3 separate regions of the Homo sapiens genome follow, and regions 2 and 3 are each linked to region 1. Evidence: promoter capture Hi-C in 16 types of primary human blood cells and fetal thymus (Javierre and others, 2016). All regions are on one chromosome and are shown on one strand. The core of a region is centred on a gene start or on the middle of the fragment in contact, and the rest is flanking DNA. Distances in the headings are between cores, read along the strand shown. Region 1 holds the start of PNRC2 (proline rich nuclear receptor coactivator 2). Region 2 overlaps SRRM1 (serine and arginine repetitive matrix 1). Region 3 has its middle 2.9 kb from the start of HNRNPR.

What was found. Contacts are between HindIII fragments. The CHiCAGO score rates a contact against its expected background, and 5 or more counts as called.
Region 2: a fragment that was not itself captured here is called in contact with the fragment with the promoter of PNRC2 in region 1 in 1 of 17 cell types (fetal thymus); the score reaches 5.9 in fetal thymus.
Region 3: a fragment that was not itself captured here is called in contact with the fragment with the promoter of PNRC2 in region 1 in 1 of 17 cell types (neutrophils); the score reaches 5.4 in neutrophils.

The regions. Positions count from the first base shown.
Region 1 is chr1:23,957,108-23,961,847 of GRCh38, forward strand. It overlaps PNRC2 (proline rich nuclear receptor coactivator 2), which reads left to right and starts at 2,721. Exons shown (of 3, transcript NM_017761.4): 1 at 2,721-2,891; 2 at 3,822-4,027; 3 at 4,333-4,740. The coding sequence starts at 4,351. LOC124903877 (a long non-coding RNA gene) reads right to left here and starts at 1,007. Exons shown (of 4, transcript XR_007065541.1): 1 at 995-1,007. RefSeq lists enhancers at 951-1,579, 1,758-1,817, 2,718-2,987 and silencers at 1,898-1,997, 2,408-2,517. The HindIII fragment of the contact is 4,127 bases long and covers 138-4,264 here.
Region 2 is chr1:24,644,794-24,649,533 of GRCh38, forward strand. SRRM1 (serine and arginine repetitive matrix 1) reads left to right here. Exons shown (of 17, transcript NM_005839.4): 2 at 1,191-1,280; 3 at 1,874-1,996; 4 at 4,066-4,236. Among named protein-coding and RNA genes, the nearest start is that of SRRM1, 3.9 kb to the left of the region's middle. The HindIII fragment of the contact is 4,299 bases long and covers 631-4,740 here.
Region 3 is chr1:23,344,811-23,349,550 of GRCh38, forward strand. No RefSeq gene overlaps it. Among named protein-coding and RNA genes, the nearest start is that of HNRNPR, 2.9 kb to the left of the region's middle. RefSeq lists a silencer at 1-16. The HindIII fragment of the contact is 155 bases long and covers 1,479-1,633 here.

The sequences.
Region 1 (4,740 bases), core at 1,471-3,970:
TATCAGATGTCCCAAAAAAGGTATTATTTTAACTTCTCCTCTCTAGTTCTGAGCTGTTGCGGGCACTTGGTAAATACTAATGAATGATGAGGCTGGAGCTAGCCTGAGAGGGTGCTGGGAGTCTGGGACGCAGTAAAAGCTTTAACAGTGCTTTCCCCAAGGGCATCTCGACTCTGACCTTCTGGCAAAGAAACTGGTTCTGCCAGATGGTAGGATGGAGGCTTCTTGTTGCCCGAACAGCCCCGGCAGCCCAGTCAACAGTCAGTGTCTGCTCTGAGCAAAAAACCTTTTAGGTGCTGGAGAGCACAGATGCTGCAGGCAACCTGCAGCCTGGCCTCTTGAATCCTAGTACCTGGCTTTCAACTCGAAACCGTCTGAGCCTTCATCTGTACAGTGCGGATGAAAACAGCTCCTACCTCACAACATTATTGTGAGGATTAAATGAAATGATGTAAGAAAAAAAAATTTAGCACAGGGTAGGGGGCAGAGTAAGGATACTCTGTGTGGGTTTATACATTTCCAATGTTATGTGTGCGTTTATGCAGATAAAATTCAGAGTGGCTGAAGAGATGAATTTTTTTTTTTTTTTTTTGAGACAGTGTCTTACTCTCACCCAGGAGTGCAGTGTTGTGATCGCAGCTCACTGCAGCCTCTACTTCCTGGGCTCGGGTGATTCTCCCACCTTAGTCTCTCAGGTAGCTGGGACTACAGGCGTGTGCCACCATGCCCAGCTAATTGTTATTTGTAGAGATGGGGTTTTGCCATGTTGCCCAGGCTGGTCTCAAACTCCCGCGCTCAAGTGATCCTCCTGCCTCGGCCTCCCAAATTGCTGAGATTACAGGTGTGAGCCATGCCCTGCCATGAAAAGACTAACTCTAGACTGCAATGGCTTTGAATAATTTTCTAAACGTTTAGAGTTTAGATTTTATTCCGTATCACAATTTGGAGCCACGGAAGTGTTTTTTTGTTTGTTTTTTGTTTTTTAAAGTGACACCATTAAAAATTCATTAAATACAGCTGGCTATTATCTGGCTAGACGTCTAAGCAAACTTCTTGAATGTTTGGAAAACAGATTACACTTTCACTAAGACACCTGTTGGTTTACCACATACTTCTTATTTGAATATGATTAGCATCAGAAAGTCCCTATGCTCAAAAATACCTCTTTTATCAAATTAGATTAACAAACTGCATCCCGTAAGATGCAGTAACTTTTCTTAAGATCCAATGGCTAGAATATAGGAATTTGGGTTGGATTGGGAAGTGGGGGATAACGGTGGCAAAAAATTGAAGATTAAAAAACGAAATACAGGCCGGGTGTGGTGGCTCACGCCTGTAATCCCAGCACTTTGAGTGGCTGAGACGGGCGGATCACGTGAGGTTAGGAGTTTGAGACCAGCCTGGCCAACATGATGAAATCCTGTCTCTACTAAAAATACAAAAATTAGGAGGGTGTGGTGGCAGGCGCCTGTAATCCCAACTACTCAGGAGGCTGAGGCAGGAGAATCGCTTGAGCCCAGGAGGCGGAGGTTGCAGTGAGCCGAGATTGTGCCACTGCACTCCAGCCTGGGCGACAGAAGGAGACTCCGTCTCAAAAATAACGAATTACATGAGATTTATAAAAAGTTGGTAAATATAAATTCTGTAACGTAAACTTGGGTATATATGTGTATACACGAACAAACTGTGAATGAGACTGATTTTGTACCGTTTGGCCCAGAATTATTCACGCTCATTGAAATTAGTGCTCTTTTAAAAGATTCACATTGGGTTACTTATACATTTACTCCAAAGAAATTGCCATTTTCCCCTTACCTGCATCTGGCTGGCATAATCAACTGAACAATATTCTCTTTCTTCCCCTTTTTCACTTACAAGTGGGGCAGAAAGGGGAGGAGAGCAGTCCTCATTCTTTCAGCAAACTTACTGTGCACTTACAACGCGCGAAGGCGCTGTGCTCAGAGAAACAAAACCTAACCGGTTGTGGCCCTCGAGGGTGTGTGGGTGGGGAGAGCTGCAGCCACAGGAAACGGTAACACGGCGCGTAAAGGGCTCTAATTGAACTTAAGGACCAATGGGGCCACCAAGCAGGAAGTGACTGACTTGCCCGCGTGTGTCTGAACCGCCTTCACAGGGAGGCAACTTTTGAGTAATTGCGGGGCTGGAGGGTGGGGGCACTGGAGGGAACCGCGGGGAGGCGCCGGCTTCGGACGCGGAGTTGTGGGTGTGGGAGAGAGGCGACCCAGAAGCCGAGGCCCGAGGCGGGAGGGGGCTGCGCCCTGGCAAGAGGCTTTCCGGAGTATCTTCCATCTGTCAATACAGGCTACAGGACTCAGTGGCCCTAATTCGAGAACCAAACGTCCCCCGCCGGTCAGTCTTTTCCCCCAGGGCAGTCCCAAGGGCGGCGAGCCCGCGCGCACGAGAGCCGAGCGGTAGGAAGAGCCGAGAGCTAGCGGCCGGGGCCTCGGCGGGCCAGGGGCGCGGAGAGGCCGCCGGAGAAAGGACTAAGACACCGGTGGACCGAGCAGTTACTCCCGGCATGCTCCTCCTCCCCGGGCAGATTTCAAACCCTCTGCAGCCCCACCTCCGCGCCTTCGCCCCCGGCCAGCCCCAGCAACAGGCGGCGGCCCGCTTCTCATTGGCCAGGCCCGCGCTGTCGTGTTTTGATTGGCCGCGGAGCCTCCCGGCCCTGCTTCTGCAGTCGCTGCCGACTCCATTTTGTCGGTAGAGGCAGAAGGAGAAGGTCGGGTTGTAGAAGCTGGGGTGGCCGGCAGCTCGCTCATCGGTGTTCGTGGGCTTTGTCGGTCCGTGCCTCGTCTCTCCCTGGAAAGGGAGGGAGGCTTCGACGTCGAGAGGGAGCCGCTGCCGCGTTAGTTCCGAGCTTGAAGTCAGTAAGTAGCGGCTGCGCTAAGGGCGCGGCCATGTTGGTGGCCGCGCTCCCCATTGTTGGAGGAAGGAGGCGAGCGGAGGCGAGATCCGGGTAACCCGGGCGGGCGCGGGCGGTCACGGGCGGTCGCAGCGCCGCGACCCCTGCGGCTCCGGAGAGATGGGGCCACTGGGAAGCCAAGCCCTTGTGGCGTCGGAGGAGGCGTTTTCCGGGTTCGAGTTGGGAATTACTCACAGTCCGGAAATGGCAATTTATTTAGGGTTGTTTATCTGTTTGGAAAGCTCTCTTACCCCTTTGAAAGGAGGGGGCTTAACTATTTGGTAACTTATTTTCTTGGAACATCAAATTAAAACCAAACCTTGAAAGTTAAGCTGTTCCCTCTAGGGAGACATTTTTATATATTTAAGATGGGCTTAGACTGTTAGGGCTTGTGAGAACTTATTTTAAGACGGGGAGGAGGCGAGAGCGTTCATAACCAAAGGAAACACTGCGTGATGTCTACATGTTCCAAGAGACTGAAAATGGATGTGACATGTGTGGAAAGATTGGAAAATTCTGGTGGGAGTTTAAAAACACGGTCTCTTTAGAAAATCCGCCTGAAGCCAATTTTTTGATATGACTCAACATTTAACACTTCCTTGATTTTATACGCGAGAGAATCTGAAGGTCTTTCCCAGGAAAAAGATAAAGATAAAACTTATTGCGGGACTTGGAGACACTTACAAAAATTCCCCAGGAGTGACTGGATCTCAAGGGTGAAGAGTTTTTTTAAATGGTCGTGGTTATAAGGTCAAAGAAAGCCATCTTACGAGAAATTTTCTACCTTTTAGTTCAGGAAGTAGCCTTCTTTACAGTCAACGATTTTCGTAGTAAATCTAAATGATCACTTTCTCAACGTGTTTTTGAAATAATGAAGTAATCTTTACTTTTCTAGCTAGGACTTCTCTCAAACTTGTGTGCTGAGGAGACTCAGATGTTGGCCTCAGCTCCTAGGCTGAACTCAGCAGATCGGCCCATGAAAACTTCTGTATTGAGACAAAGGAAGGGATCTGTCAGAAAGCAACACTTGTTATCTTGGGCTTGGCAGCAAGGAAGAGGACAGGTAGTGGAGATCCTGCAATCTGAAAAGCAGACTGAAAGGTAATCATCATAATGGGCAAACATTTTATGATGGAACCATCCTAAACCAATTGTTTTTATTTTAAAATAGATTATGTAGATTTGTGGGTAAGCTCATTTTTCTTAGGGAAGGTATAACAATAAAGGTTGTGCATATATTGAAGTCTGAACGGCTTGCTTTTTTGAGTTTAAAGCAGCTGAATAGCCTGTTATTGAGTCTTGTCCAAAATATCTGGAGTTATAAGTTGGAGCCATAGAAGCTTCTTAAAGATTTTGAACTTTTCTTAATGGAATTTTACTCAATATTTGTTTCCATTCACTTGTAGGTGACAAAGAAGCTGAAGATGGGTGGTGGAGAGAGGTATAACATTCCAGCCCCTCAATCTAGAAATGTTAGTAAGAACCAACAACAGCTTAACAGACAGAAGACCAAGGAACAGAATTCCCAGATGAAGATTGTTCATAAGAAAAAAGAAAGAGGACATGGTTATAACTCATCAGCAGCTGCCTGGCAGGCCATGCAAAATGGGGGGAAGAACAAAAATTTTCCAAATAATCAAAGTTGGAATTCTAGCTTATCAGGTCCCAGGTTACTTTTTAAATCTCAAGCTAATCAGAACTATGCTGGTGCCAAATTTAGTGAGCCGCCATCACCAAGTGTTCTTCCCAAACCACCAAGCCACTGGGTCCCTGTTTCCTTTAATCCTTCAGATAAGGAAATAATGACATTTCAA
Region 2 (4,740 bases), core at 1,530-4,029, 690 kb after region 1:
GTGAAAGCCTTTTCTGACTTTTGTCAAAATATTTTCTGTGGAAAGGAGTCCAAATAAATAAAAGAGTAAGGTGATTGATGAGCAAATTTTAACATGAAGTTTGCTTGTGGTATTGGTAAAGGTCTGGGAGAGGGGCGAGTTTTTAGTACACAGCCTACAATTGCTTAAATACAAGAGTTAACTGGATTTAAGATCCAAGTTAAAATATTTTAGGGTCATTATCTAGTACCCTGCCAACCAGATGAACTATTTCAGGTAGTATAGAAGTTATATCTTCCATTCAATGAACTTCTTCCACATGCCAGATACTTTACATATGTTATTTCTGGTATGTACACAGCAACCCTGCAGAGTAGGTTTCTATACCTCTATTTTAGCAGGGAAGGAACTATCCTCAGAGAGGCTGGGTAACTTGGTTTACGATCTTACGGCTAAGTAGTGGCACAGTTTTTACCTTCTCAAACAAAATTTTTTTTGATCGCTTTCCAGGGGACTGTGGCCAACTCAGTGAACCAATCAGTACATTTCAGATGGCACAGCCAGTTATTTCCGTGTTTAATTGGGCCAGTAGGAATGACAAAATGAAAAGAATAATTAGTGATCACTCGATGATCTAAGGTAGTATTTGTAAGCTTTCATTTTTCCAGGTTCTTTGCTGAAATTGAGTTTATTTAGGTAACCCTGTCTTCTTCACTCATTCCAAGTTCCTAAAAGTTGTAGAAGACTAACAGCACAGTCCTGGGATGTTCTTTTTTCCTTTCACCCTGTTTGTATGCATTGCCACAGTAGTTTTGCAAGCATGCAACTGGCTTTCAAAAAAGAATGAAATTTCAAATACTTCAATGTGTTCTCATTTAAACAGAAAAGCCCTACGTATCTATTAGCATAGGAAAAGGTGTGAAAGGATACAAATCAAATCTAACATTGGATATGAGGAGGTGTTGGCTTTATGCTGTATACTGTTGTTTTAGGTTTGACTTATGATGAACATATACTTGATAATTTAAAAATCCAGTCAAGTTTTCCAAGTATCAGCTACATTGGGGAAGGAGTATGCATTTCTCATCTATGAAAACTAGTTTGGTATTGTGTTTACTTGGTTACCCTATTTTGGCTATAAAGGTCGTAGGTGATAAAAAGTAAGGATTTAACTTTGAACCCTTAGTTAAGATGTGGTTCTCTTCCTGCAGGGAACAAGTGCAGAACAGGATAATCGGTTCAGCAACAAACAGAAGAAACTACTGAAGCAGCTGAAATTTGCAGAATGCCTAGAAAAAAAGGTATTCTTCTGGATGAGACTGTTGTGCATCTTTATAGCACACTTACTTGACTCAAGTTCTGGGGTTGTTTTGGAGATGCATTGTAACTTGAATGCTAAGAAAAACATAATTGAACATTAACCACCTTTTAGCCACCACACGTGGCACAGCCATATAAGAATTAGCAGATTGTGGCTGGGCGAGGTGGCTCACGCCTGTAATCCCAGCACTTTGGGAGGCCGAGGCGGGCAAATCACAATGTCAGGAGATTGAGACCATCCTGGCTAACACGGTGAAACCCTGTCTCTACTAAAAATACAAAAAATTAGCCGGGCGTGGTGGCGGGTGCCTGTAATCCCAGCTAATTGGGAGGCTGAGGCAGGAGAATGGCACGAACCTGGGAGGCGGAGCTTGCAGTGAGCTGAGCACCACTGCACTCCAGCCTGGGCAAGAGTGCAAGACTCTGTCTCAAAAAAAAAAAAAAAAAATTAGCAGATTCTACTATGCCAAACAAAAAAACTAAGCTAAAAGGAACTTTGGTAGACAGAACTCTAACTTGAGCATTTTTTTTTAGGATTGTGAAGTTGTACTTAATTGTTTCTATGTTTCATCAGGTGGACATGAGCAAAGTAAATTTGGAGGTTATAAAGCCTTGGATAACAAAAAGAGTAACGGAAATCCTTGGGTTTGAAGATGATGTTGTGATTGAGTTTATATTCAACCAGCTGGAAGTGAAGGTACTAATATACAAATGGCTCTTGTTTCTGAATATGTGATATAATTTGTGAATCTTTGGAAACTGAATTTTTTCTATGGAGTGCAAATATAGAAGGGTTATTTTACAATGTTTGTTGTGAAAAGAATTCACTTTGTAAACAACTATTAAGGCTGGAAGTTTAGTGAAGGTGCATAGTTTTGAAAGCTACACAGGTGAAAAATCAAACTTATTGTTTGTAATTTTGCTGTTACATGTTAAGTTACTTTGACAGCAATTTTCTAATGATAATGTGATTTATGATTTAAAAGGCCTGAACCAAAATGGAAGTTATTCCTTGCGTCTGAAGTATAGCACCATCACCTTATTAGGTCACAGCAGAGTGAGTGTCCCAATGTCGCTCTGACCCAACTCCCTTGATGATGCAGTGTGTGTTTGGAGGTGAGTTGTGTAAAGTGGCCAAACATCAACAACAACAACAAAAAACACAAACAGGAAAGAGCAATTGGGTAAAGCTGTACACTGCTCTTTTAAAATACTATTATGAGATGGACATTTATGTGAAGCATGAGGGGCAATTCTGATTTGATTGGATATTGTTTTTAAAGGAACTAAGGTCTTTGTAGCTGCATGTCAGCTAGTCATCAGTTACATTTTAGAGACAGGATTTTTGTTTATACTTAAACTTCAGACAAATTGGCAGCATATAATTGTTCCTTTATACATGAGATAATATGATGATATAACTGATGTTTAAGAACATTCTTATTGTAAGACAGTTTCTGTTTTGCCACAGCAACCCAAAGGACAGTTAAGATATGTACCATATGACCTTTTTGCATATATACCAATGTGAATTTACTTTTACATTAATCATTTCCCCCAAAGAGTTCACCCTATGTTTTGACAGAACAGTTGGCATTTCAACTGATAAGGTATTTCTAGTTTTAAAATAATTTGGTGTTTGTATTTTGTTTTGAATATTTTTAAAGACTAATTTTAAGAATGCACTTTCTATAAAGTATATGCATCTTAGAAAACCAGGAACAGGGGAGAAAGTTTTTTAAATGATGATTGAAGATAGATTTTATTGGAGAAATGCTTTACTGATGTGTATTTTAGTGCATTTTAAAAACCTAAGTATCTGGTAGTATTCCCCTTGTAGTGAGCATGAGATTAAAGTTTAGAACTTTTTAAGACAATTCTTTTTTTGTGGTTGTGTACTCATTATTGCTTGTTCGTCTTTTGCAATTTAGATAAATGATATAACATTAAACTCAAGGTGGTTGAGTTGCAGTAGGGAGTCGGAAGCAAGCCAAGGGAACATCTTTCTCTACAGGGGACTTGGCGATTCCAAACCCCCAAGGTTCCAAGAAGAAACTGAAGACACCTGGAATCTGTACTTGCTTTGTGCTATTGAGCTGTGCTTGTTATACAGACCTTGTTGCTTGACCAACGGATTTAGCATTTAAAAACCCAATTATTTTTGAGAAATCTTGACCTCTTAGCACTTTGTGGACAGTTGAGAATTTGAGGCATTGTTATAATAGATTTTCCTTATATAAAACTCAGGCCTTTAGCTTAGCCCTCAGAAGTTACAGACTGCATGCATAACTTGTTAGTTTTCATAACTGGACAATAGATATTTTATGCAAAGCTATCTGTAGTGTTAGGGAGCAGTTTATGTACTTTTTCCGTTTCTCATTGGGGGAAAATTTCCAGGCAAGCAAATACTTTTCTTGTTAGTAAATACTAGAATTTGTGGATGTTTCATGATGGTTTTTAAAGTTAATAAATGTAAGGCCCACTAACAGCCACAGAGTCTAAAAATACTTACGAAATCCACAAAGGATTAACAGGCTGCTCTGATGCTTTTGGTAGAGTGAGAGAGAATTTGGTAATCTGTTAGAGATTATATTGCTGAGAAGCTACTAGGGAAGACTATTTGTAAAATAGTAAGGACTATATATATGTCTAAGCCCCTATGGTAGACTTAAAAAATACTAATTTAAATGAGTTTTAGGTTGGTTGATTTGTTGGTTGGTTGGTTTTGAAGTAACCTGTTTTTCTTCCTGTCGTGTCTTTTTGCAGAATCCAGACTCCAAAATGATGCAAATCAACCTGACTGGATTTTTGAATGGAAAAAATGCTCGAGAATTTATGGGAGAACTGTGGCCCCTGCTGCTAAGTGCACAAGAAAACATCGCGGGAATCCCTTCTGCTTTCCTAGAACTGAAGAAAGAAGAAATAAAACAAAGACAGGTAATAACCTTTTCTTTTCTGTAATGTCGATTTGAGAGTATTGGCCAGGCTGCCGAGACACCTTAGGTAGTATATGACTCAGCTAGGATCTTCATGTAGTTTTGCTTTGCTGTACTGTATTTAAACATTCAGTTTTGGTTCACTGCTCCTCCCTCCAACCAAACATTGAGTTTAGAATGTCATTTTCCCAGTCTAGTGATTTGCTAGATTTTTACAAATTCTTAATATGTGAGTGCATGTAGCTTAAAAGAAATTTGAATTTAACACTGAAAGGTAAGCATAAGGATTTTTGGTTTGTTGTTTTTTTGAGACACAGTTTCAGTCTGTCACCCAGGCTAGAGTGCAGTGGTGTGGTCTCTGCTCACTGCAGCTTTCACCTCCTGAGTTCAAGCGATTCTCATGCCTCAGTCTCCTGAGTAGCTGGGATTACAGGCGCACACCACCACATCCAACTCATTTTTGTATTTTTAGTACAGACGGGATTTTGCCATGTTGGCCAGACTT
Region 3 (4,740 bases), core at 306-2,805, 610 kb before region 1:
CGCCCATAGCCACGCGTTCGGGCCTCTTTCGGTCATCTTTTCGCCTCTAGTGAGCACACGATTTAAGGATGATTTGGCTCGTCATTTTGCTGAGGATTTTGTCTAGATAATCATTCCTTGGAACGATCGGAGAAATGCCTCTTTCCCTCCCTGGCTGCCGTCCACACATCGTTGGTGGCAGACTGTGAGGGAAATCGTTAAAATGACTCAAAAGCAATGTGTAACACAAGTGATAGAGCAGGGAGCTTTTCCCCACAGGGTTTGGAGCTACTTGATATTCATAAAATAAAGCAGCTATATACATCTCTGAAGCCAAAAGAGCCATGCAGGGGAAAGGGGTAATTCCCAAAGGACACTATAATTCGTGTTAGTCCTAAACCTATTTCTCACCTGCCATTCCTACTGATTTGTTCCCTGTCCTTAGTCCAAACCTGTCTCGTCTCATAGAAACCTTCCGAACTCACTTCTGTGGTGCAAGCGCTTTTTTCCCAACCCCAAACTCCAATGCCCCACCCTTAGGAAGTGGAGGAAGTCAAGCAGTGGTCTGCAGATTTCCAGATGCACTCAAGGATGATTAAATTTCTCAGAACCTACAAACCTATATTTAATTATTGAAAACGGGCGGGGCGTGGTAGCTCATGCCTGTAATCCCAGCACTTTGGGAGGCCGAGGCGGGTGTATCGGTCAGAAGTTCGAGACCAGCCTGATCAACATGGTGAAACCCTGCCTCTACTAAAAATACAAAAATTAGCCCGGTGTGGTGGCACGTGCCTGTAAACCCACCTACTCCGGAGGCTGAGGCAGAAAAATCGCTTGAACCCGGGAGGCGGAGGTTGCAGTGAGCCAATATCGCACCACTGCACTCCACCCTAGGGAACAACAGCGAAACTCCGTCTTAAAAAAAAAAAAAAAGAAAAAGAAATATTGAAAACGACTACTATGTGCCCAGTACCAAGTTAAATCTCTGGGTAGATCCAAGTTTTGTGTTATGGGGTGTGAGATTTACAGAAATGCTGGGAGTCTTAGGCCGGGCGCGGTGGCTCACGCCTGTAATTCCAGCACTTAGGGAGGCCGAAGTGGACGATCACTTGAGCACAGGAGTTCGAGACCAGCCTGGCCAACATAGTGAAACCCCGTCTCTACTAAAAATACACAAATTAGCCGAGCGTGGTGGCGCGTGCATGTAATTCCAGCTACTTGAGAGGCTGAGGCAGGAGTATCGCTTGAACCCGGGAGGCGGAGGTTGCAGTAGCCGGGATTGCGCCATTGCACTCCAACCTGGGCGACAAGAGTGAAACTCCTTCTAGAAAGAAAGAGAGAAAGACAGAGAGAGAGAAGAAAAGGAAAGAAAAGGAAAAGAAAGGAAGAAGGAAAGAAAGAAATGTTGGGAGTCTTTAAGAAAAATCATATTAAATGACGAATACAAATTTAGGAACAGAGTCTTGGAAGGGCATTGTAAAAGTGAGGGAGGACCCCGAAGCTTAACTTTTTTTTTTTAATAGAGACACGGGAGGTGCGGAGGGAATCTCGCTATGTTGCCCAGGCCGGTCTTGGCCGGTCTTGAATTCCTGGCCTCAAATGATCCTTCTGCTTCGGCCTCCCAAAGTGCTGAGATTACAGGCGCCCAGCCTGAAGCTTAAATTTTACTAGCTTCACATAAATCTGCCTCTAGCGCCATAATTCTTAACCTATTTTGTGCCATTTGGAAGTCTGGTAAAAGCTATGAATCTCTTCTCAGTTTTTAAATGCATGAAACAAAATACAGAGCAATACGAAAGAAACCATTTATATTGAAATACAATTAGGAAATATATTTTAAAACACATTCGTGATATAGTAAGGTTTTACTTTTTTATTTTTTATTTATTTTATTTTTATTTTTTTTTTTTTGAGATGGAGTCTCGCTCTGTCGCCCAGGCTGGAGTGCAGTGGCGCGAACTCGGCTCACTGCAAGCTCCGCCTCCCGGGTTCATGCCATTCTCCCGCCTCAGCCTCTCGAGTAGCTGGGACTATATAGCCTGCCATCATGCCCAGCTAATTTTTTTTTTTTTTTTTTTTTAGTTGAGACGGGGTTTTCACCGTGTTAGCCAGGATGGTCTTGATCTCCTGACCTCATGATCCGCCCGCCTCGGCCTCCCAAAGTGCTGGGATTACAGGCATGAGCCACCGCGCCCAGCTTATTTTTTTATTTTTTTTTGAGACAGAGTCTCGCTGTGTCGCCCAGGCTGGAGTGCAGTGGCGCAATCTCGGCTCACTGCAAGCTCCGCCTCCCGGGTTCACGCCATTCTTCTGCCTCAGCCTCCCGAGTAGCTGGGACTACAGGCGCCAGCCACCACGCCCAGCTAATTTTTTGTATTTTTAGTAGAGACGGGGTTTAACCGTGTTAGCCAGGATGGTCTCGATCTCCTGACCTCGTGATTCGTCCGCCTCAGCCTCCCAAAGTGCTGGGATTACAGGCGTGAGCCACCGCACCCAGCCCAGCTTTTACTTTTTAATTTTTTTTTTTTTTTTTAAACATGTGCTCACTTTATCACCCAGGCTGGAGTGCAATGGTGCAATCTGGGCTCACGGCAACCTCTGCCTCCAGGGCTCAAGCGATCCTCTGACCTCAGCTTCCCCAGTGGCTTGTAGGAACTACAAGCGCTGGCCACCGCTCTGGGCTAATTGTTGTTTTTGTTTTTTTGTGTTTTTTTTTTTTTTCTTTTTTTCAGAGACGGGGTTTCACCATGTTACCCAGGCAGGAACTTTTTCTTTATTAACACAATAACTATTAAGATCTTAGAGCAGATCTAATAACTACAGAAATTGTAGAGTGATATTTCAAGAAATCCATGAGTAGTAAAGTGATATGAAAATGATTTCTATTGGTGACAGAGGGAAAGCTGTTACTAATTCTACTGTGATATGTTGTCTACATTCACAATGGGGAAAAATGCTAAATTTCAGTTAGATGTTAGAGAAAACAAAGATGTAATTTTTTTCCCCATCCAAGTTTAAGTACTCCTTACTTGCATTCAGAGACTCCTTCAAGTCCATTGATGAGAACCCGTGGGTCAGATATGTAATTTTTTTTTTTTTGAGACAGTCTCACTCTGTGGCCCATACTGGAGTGCAGTGGTGCAATCTCAGCTCAATGCAACTTCCACCTCCCGGATTCAAGCGATTCTCCTGCCTCAGCCTCCCAAGTAGCTGGGATTACAGATGCCTGCCATGCATGACATCTGGCTAATTTTTGTATTTTTAGTAGAGGCAGGGTTTCACCATGTTGTCCAGGCTGGTCTCAAACTCCTGACCTCAAATGATCCGCCCACCTCGGCCTCCCAAAGTGTTGGGATTACAGGTGTGAGCCACCGCACCTGGCCTAGATATGTAATTTAAAACGATTCTATCACCCAGTATTTTCTGGGATAATATTTCAAATGTTCTGCTATGTAGTCATCAAAGGTATACTCCACATTTCAGACCATATGTCTTGATTTTTTTACTTGGAAAGAAAATTATTGTATAGATACAGATATTCATGAATTCAATATTCCACAAATATGTATTGCATGCCTCTATATAAAAATCATGGAGTTGGCCAGCATGGTGGCTCATGCCTGTGGTCCCAACACTTTGGGAGGCCAAGGCAGGCAGATCACCTGAGGTCGGAAGTTCAAGACCAGCCTGACCAACATGGAGAAACCCGGTCTCTACTACAAATACAAAAATTAGCTGGGCATGGTGGCGCATGCCTGTAATCCCAGCTACTCAGGAGGCTGAGGCAGGAGAATCACTTGAACCCGGGAGTCAGAGGTTGTGGTGAGCTGAGATCGCGCCATTGCACTCCAGCCTGGGCAACAAGAGTGAAACTCCAACTCAAAAAAAAAAAAGAAAGAAAGAAAAATCATGGAGTTAAGAGTAGAGAAAGCCAGGCACAGTGGCTCATGCCTGTAATTCCAGCACTTTGGGAGGCCGAGGCAGGTGGATCATGTGGTCAAGAGATCTAGACAATTCTAGCCAGTATGGTGAAACCCCATCTCTACTGAAAATACAAAAATTAGCTGGGCATGGTGGCGCACGTCTGTAGTCCCAGCTACTTAGGAGGCTGAGGCAGTAGAATCGCTTGAACCCAGGAGGCAGAGGTTGCAGTGAGCCAAGATCACGCCACTGCATTCCAGCCTGGCGACAGAGCAAGACTCCATCTCAAAAAAAAAAAAAAAAAAAAGCCAGGCACGGTGGCTCATGCCTGTAATCCCACCACTTTGGGAGGCTGAGGCGGGAGGATTGTTTGTGTTCAGGTGTTCAAGACCAGCCCAGGCAACATGCTGAAACCCCGTCTCAACAAAAGTTGCAAAAATTAGCCGGCTGTGGTGGCACATGCCTGTAGTACCAGCTACCCAGGAGGCTGAGGTAGGAGGATCACTTGAGACTGGGAGGTGGAGGTTGCAGTGAGCAAGTGAATGCACCACTGCACTCCAGCCTGGGCAACAGAATGAGATCCTGTCTTAAAAATAAATAAATAAATAAATAAATAAATAAACAAACAAACAAATAACCTAGGGAATATAAAATGAATAAAACACAATCCCTGTCCTCCATCCTAGGTGAGAGGTAGGACAAGTATAAACATTTAAAAAAAAATGGGGGCTGGGTGCAGTGGCTCATACCTGTAATCCCAGCACTTTGGGAGGCCGAGGCAGGTAGATTGCCTGAGGTCAGGAGTTTGAGACCAGTCTGGCCAACATGGTGAAACTCTGT